2 separate regions of the Homo sapiens genome follow, and region 1 is linked to region 2. The links are contacts of gene promoters, found by promoter capture Hi-C in human tissues and cell types (Jung and others, 2019). All regions are on one chromosome and are shown on one strand. Each heading gives the region's core, a stretch centred on a gene start or on the middle of the fragment in contact. The rest is flanking DNA. Distances are from core to core; before and after follow the strand shown. Region 1 has its middle 9.9 kb from the start of OR10G2. Region 2 holds the start of OR10G3 (olfactory receptor family 10 subfamily G member 3).

The links. The method cuts DNA at HindIII sites, captures the fragments that hold promoters and counts their contacts. A contact is called where the count stands out against the background at its distance.
Region 1: a fragment that was not itself captured here is called in contact with the fragment with the promoter of OR10G3 in region 2 in 2 of the 25 tissues and cell types used here (mesendoderm cells and thymus).

Annotation. Positions count from the first base shown.
Region 1 is chr14:21,623,516-21,626,591 of GRCh38, forward strand. It overlaps TRA. Among named protein-coding and RNA genes, the nearest start is that of OR10G2, 9.9 kb to the right of the region's middle. The HindIII fragment of the contact is 5,146 bases long and covers 1-3,076 here.
Region 2 is chr14:21,578,236-21,581,377 of GRCh38, forward strand. OR10G3 (olfactory receptor family 10 subfamily G member 3) reads right to left here and starts at 1,841. Exons shown (of 2, transcript NM_001005465.2): 1 at 1,551-1,841. The HindIII fragment of the contact is 16,961 bases long and covers 1-2,047 here.

The DNA.
Region 1 (3,076 bases), core at 121-2,620, 45 kb after region 2:
TCTGTCACCCAGGCTGGAGTGCAGTGGCCCAATCTCGGCTCACTGCAAGCTCCGCCTCCTGGATTCACGCCATTCTCCTGCCTCAGCCTCCTGAGTAGCTGGGCCTACAGGCATCGGCCACCACGCCTGGCTAATTTTTTCTATTTTTAGTAGAAAGGGAGTTTTACCGTATTAGCCAGGATGGTCTTGGTCTCCTGACCTCATGATCCACCAGCCTCGGCCTCCCAAAGTGCTGGGATTACAGGCGTGAGCCACTGCGCCGACCTCTATTAGCTAATTTTTAATGACTTATTTTGGGGTAAACAGAATAAGAGGGACTTGGTGGTAGGGAGTAGAAAGGTAGAGTGGATGGTTTTCACTCAACAAATATTTTACTGAATACTTATATGTGCTAGGCACTCTTTCAATTGCTATGGTGCATCACTAAATAAAACATACCTGCACTGAGGTTGCTTATGTTCTTGTGAAGAGAGAGAGTAAGTAGATGTTTTAGCAGACTTTGAAAGCACAGGGAAAATACATTTGACCCTCAGAACTCAGCTTCATTTTCTTTAATAGGAAGAGAGCTGAGATGTATGTAAGCAATGCTGATGTCCTGTGCTTGTTATAATTTTATAATATAAATTAATCATCAGCTGAATAAGGGCTGTATAACATTGGATAGTTATAAGACTGCAAGTCAAGTTATCCAAAGAATCTCAGTCTTTCAAATTATTCAAATGTAGCTGTGTCTATAGTGGGACTCTATATAAAATCAGAAAGATACTGAACGTTTGAATGGAGAATCTAACACTGAGGCAAATGACCTTTAACATGTGAGTTATTTGTAAAAATGAAAAAAATTTCGAGTGCTTCATTGAAATCAAGAAGGAGATAAAGTCTAAAAAACTTTCAGCAAGGAGTGAATGGTCAATGGAAATGAACTATACAAAATCAATTATCTTAAATTTGAAGACGTGTAAGTTACTGATATTCTCCTTAATCAGTATGCTATCTTTTTATCTTTTTAATTTAGTGACCATGAAGAGTATCCGTAAGAACTTTTATAGGTTCATTTTGACCTTGTTTTCATATCTATTTTCTCCTAAAGTCTTAATTTTTTTTTTTGAGATGGAGTCTCACTCTGTCGCCTAGGCTGGAGTGCAGAGGTGCTATCTTGGCTCACTGCAACCTCTGCCTCCCAGGTTCAAGTGATTCTCATGCCTCAGCCTCCCAAGTAGCTGGGATTACAGGTATGCCACCATGCCTGGCTAACTTTTGTATTTTTAGTAGAGATGGGGTTTCACCATGTTGGCCAGGCTGATCTCGAACTCCTGACCTCAAGTGATCCACCCACCTTGGCCTCCCAAAGTGTTGGAACTATAGGCATGAGCCACCATGCCCAGCCAAGCCTTAAGTTTTTAGATAACATGTTTTTCTGCCACAGAGATTTTCAAGAAGAAAGAGTACCATTCTTTGTTACTTTCTCTCTCTGCTAGTAGAGTTTCTCTTTAACCCAGCAACTTCTTTCATTTCCACCTAGAAGGTGGTTGAATGCTAGATGTTGGAGCAAGCCATTACCAGAGGATAGGAGACAAGGTTTTTCGAATTATTGTAGATCAAACTGGGAACCCAGCTCTCTTGTCATGTTCAAAGAGCAGTAGCTGTGTTTGGACTTCGGAGTTAGATATTTCTAAGTTCAAATCCAAGCTTCACAGGGTGTTCAGATAAAATCTCACAGAATGAAAGAAACATAGGAAGGATTGGAAGGAATTTGACATGTATCAAATCTAACTATCTTCTACAATGTTTGAGTAAAGCTCTGATTTTTGAGCATCTCTTTGACCTTGTTTTCTTGAGTAGTTGGGGATGAGTCCAGCTTCAATGTCTCTTGCCTTGAGATCTTACCTTTGGAGCTTTTTATATCCCTCAGTTCGGGCAAGATAGAACATCCCATTGTCCAGTTATTTTCTAGTCCTGTGGTATCTGTGGAGTTTCCAGAGCCACACTGGTGCTCGGATGTCTGGAGCATGTTCTCACTGTGGAAATTAACCTCGCTTTAGTTCTAGTTCCTAAGGAAGATAACCAAGAGAACACAGGTGGAAGAAGCTTGCATCAAGAAGACTACACTCTATCTTGGAGGTGAACTGTTCACTATTACATACATAACTCAGGAAAACTTAGATACCTCTCTTGTTTCTTTTGGCTTAATGGTGGTAAATAATTTAGGTGTTACTGAGCCCTAGGTTATTCAATTGTTTCTTGTGGTTTCTCTACTCCCATATCTTTGTACATAGTTCCTATGCAGAGAAAACTCTCCGCAAATTATCATGTTTTGAGTAGGCTATCTATTGCTTTTTGGAAAATCAGCACCATCCATGTGCCTTAAGAGTGATTTGCACATGTACTCAGGGGTACAGGGAAGTGAAGGAGGTCAGTTGGAAGAAATACAAAAACCAAGATCTTCATTAAGAAGAGTTTAAAAATTTTGAAGGAATAGTTGGATCTTTTTCTAAGAAAAATCCTTAAGAGATTTGATAATATGAATTTGGATGGGAAATAAGGAGTGTGCTGTGTACCACTGGATTTAGGACATGAGCGCTGGAGGCCCAGAATGCACACATAACCCTTCTCAGGCAACCCTTGAGGCTGTGGTTTGGATACTGAACCAAGGGTAAAGGCACAGACAAAAGCTGACATTTTGAGGGATCAGTTTATGAGGTGGAGTAAAACTCTAAGCTGGACTCTGCCAGTACCCTTTTGAAACCCTGTCTTTTTTCCTAAATGAGGAATCTCAATTCCAGATAGAAAATGAGGACGAATGGCTCACGCCTGTAATCCCAGCACTTTGGGAGGCCGAGATGGGCAGATAACAAGGTCAGGAGTTTGAGACCAGCCTGGCCAATATGGTGAAACCCCGTTTCTACTAAAAACACAGAAATTAGCTGGGCGTGGTGGCGTGCACCTGTAATCCCACGTACTTGGGAGGTTGAGGCTGGAGAATCGCTTGAACCTGGGAGGTGGAGGTTGCAGTGAGCTGAGATGGTGCCACTACACTCCAGCCTGGGCAACAGAGTGAGACTCTATCTAAAAAAAA
Region 2 (3,142 bases), core at 591-3,090:
CCTCGTCTCTACTAAAAATACAAAAATTAGCTGGGCATAGTGGTATGAGCCTGTAATCCCAGCTACACAGGAGGCTGAGGCAGGAGAGTAGCTTGAACCCGGAAGGCAGAGGTTGCAGTGACTTGAGATCGTGCGATTGCACTCCAGCCTGGGCAACAAGAATGAAACTCCATCTCAAAATAAATAAATAAATAATAAATAAACAAAATAAAATAAAGACCATCTAGTACATGAATGTTTGAAAAATATATGAGAAATATTAGGGGACCACAAACTAAATAAAAGTGTATAATTTTGAGCAACCAAGGAGATTAGACATCTTTTCTAATGAGGCGAAGGGCACAGGCTTAACCTCATTTCAGCAAATGAATTTTACTTAATTCTGGTCCCAAACTGTATCCCTAACCCATCTTTCAAATGGCCATGAAGAAAACTTTAAAAATTTTATTATTTTCTGAAAATCGACTCAAAGCACACTTTTTTATTTATAAAAAGCATTTCAAATATTTGGAAAACTAATATAATTAATTTCTTTTTAAAATAAATTTCACAATAAGACATATAAAATGGAAAATAATTTAAAGATGAATAACAATGGAACAAATATATACATATATAATATGAGAAAAGTTTGAGTTATTAAATTGAGAGACATGAGACAATTTCTATTAAAATGTAAAACCCTTATTAGCAATGAGTTAGAATTGTCTGTTTAAAATATTTGCCAACAAAGAAATCAGGTTATAGCTTTACTCATGTCCATTTTTCAAATTTTGGGCAGAGAACTTGTCTTATAGGTGGAAGGGACCTGGTGAGGACAAAAAGAACAGAGCAAGGGTGGCACCACCACAGAACTCGAAGATGCTCTTCCTAGTCTGGTTGGTATTAAAACCAGTGAATGGACTTTTAATGGAGAATAGCTTTGGAGAAAAATTTAGCCAATTAAAGGCCTGGGGGAAATAGTGTTATCCAATATTAGCCACTATTTTTTAATTTTTTAATTTTTTTAATTTTAATTTTTATTTTTGAGATGGAGTCTCTCTCTGTTGCCCAGGCTGGAATGCAGTTGTGCCATCTTGGCTCACTGCAACCTCCATCTCTCAGGTTCAAGTGATTCTCCTGCCTCAGCCTCCCAAGTAGCTGGGATTACAGGCGTGTACCACCACCCCCAGCTAATTTTTGTATTTTTAGTAGAGATGGGGTTTTACCATGTTGGTTAGGCTGGTCTTGAACTCCTGACCTCAGGTGATCCGCCCGTCTTGGCATCCCAAAGTGCTGGGATTACAGGTGTGAGCCAACATGCTTGGCCTATTAGCCACTATTTATAAAAAGGCTAAATGGTAGTTACATAGTCATATGAGCAGAACAGCAAAGAAAATTTTTGTGACAGCAGAAAAAGAACTATACTGAGTAACTAAACAAGTAAGAATATTGAGAGATGAAGTGACTCAGAGTAGAGAAACCCCTTACACAATGTTTGGACTTAACATTTATCTCTGAAAAATGGGATTAGAACAGTGGCAGGTGCTATTTTGAGAAGAGGAACTCACCTGAAGGTGTCAGCATCCATCAAAAACTCTTCTTGCAGACGGAGAGAAAGGATACAAATCTATTCCTAAGGAATCTTGAATATCTCATAGGTCAGCAGCAATTATTGTGAAGAGCTCGTGGCAGAAGACCCAACTAATTACTTTTGGCTGGATCAAAGTAAAGAGTCAAACTATGGAAACTTAATTTATTATTTGCCTGCTTATTTGTAGAGATATCTGCTTCCAGCTTCCTTATGAACTGGGGGAGGAGCTGTGGCTCTTACTGAAGATAACTGTTAAGGTTGGTCTCTCCTGTGTTCTACTACTTCTTCTATTTCCCTCAGAGTCAGTTTTTATGTGTGAGACCTTTAGCTTGGGGAATATTGTAATAGCACTCCTGTGATAGGCAAGACCAATATCCATAGTTTGTTTCCTAGGAGACTCTCTGGGTTTCTAGCTTTTTCCAATTTTGTAACAGCAGGTGCGACAAAGTCTGTGGGGCTTAACAGGTCTCGTTGAAATCTTCAGATCTGTGGTTTTCTTTCTGTTCCAAAGCAAATTTGGAAAAAAAGAGAAGAAAAAGCTAACATGGTTGTTACTTGGCAAGAGATGTGTTCTTATTGGTGCATTCACATTTTAAGAAATTCACACTTTGAATTACTAAGGTGCTAACATAGACCTTCACAGACTAGAAGAAACAGAATTTCAGGGTTGGAGGGACATTAGAGGTCATCTGATCCAACTATCATCTGTAATGTTTTAAGTCAAGCTCCCTGAACAGTGATTTTTCTTTTTTAATTTTACAATTTTATTTATTTATTTATTTTTTGAGACAGGGTCTTGCTCTGTCGCTCAGGCTGGAGTGCAGCGACGTGATCACGGCTCACTGCAGCCTCATCCTCCTAGGCTCAAGCGATTCTTCCACCTCAGCCTCCCAAGTGGCTGGGACTACAGGCACATACCACCACACCTGACTAATTTTTAAATTTTTCGTAGAGACGAGGTCTCACTAGATTGCTCAGGCTGGTCTTGAACTCCTGGGCTCAAGTGATCCTCCTCCCTCTACCTCCCAAAATGCTGGGACTACAGGTGCAAGCCACTGCCCCCGGCCTGTTATTTTTCTTAGTATTTCTTGGTCTTGTTTCCTTGAATACTTTGAATTTGGTCTAACTTATTTTCTTCTAGACTTAAATTTGGTGTTGTCGCAACATTTTTCCCAACTGTCTTCAAATGTCCAGAGATGGTCTGTGTTGTAAAAGAACATCTTGAATATGGTTTAGTTTTATTATTTTTTCCACCAAACTTTTGTGGAGGTCTCTGTAGCTTCCAAGCCACAATTGTGTTAAAGTGTCTAAAGCAGAGGAAAGCACACTTTCTCTCTAAAGAGGCAGATAATAAATGTTTTTGGCCTTGAGGACCATACAGTCTCTGTTGCAGCTACTCAACTCTGCCATTGTATGGGAAAGCAGCCATAAAATACACATACAAATGGGCATGGGTTTTTTTTTTTTTTGAAACGGAGTCTCACTCTGTTGCCCAGGCTGGAGTGCAGTGGTGTGATCACGGCTCACTACAACCTTTGCCTCCGGAGTTCAAGTGATTCTCCTGCCTCA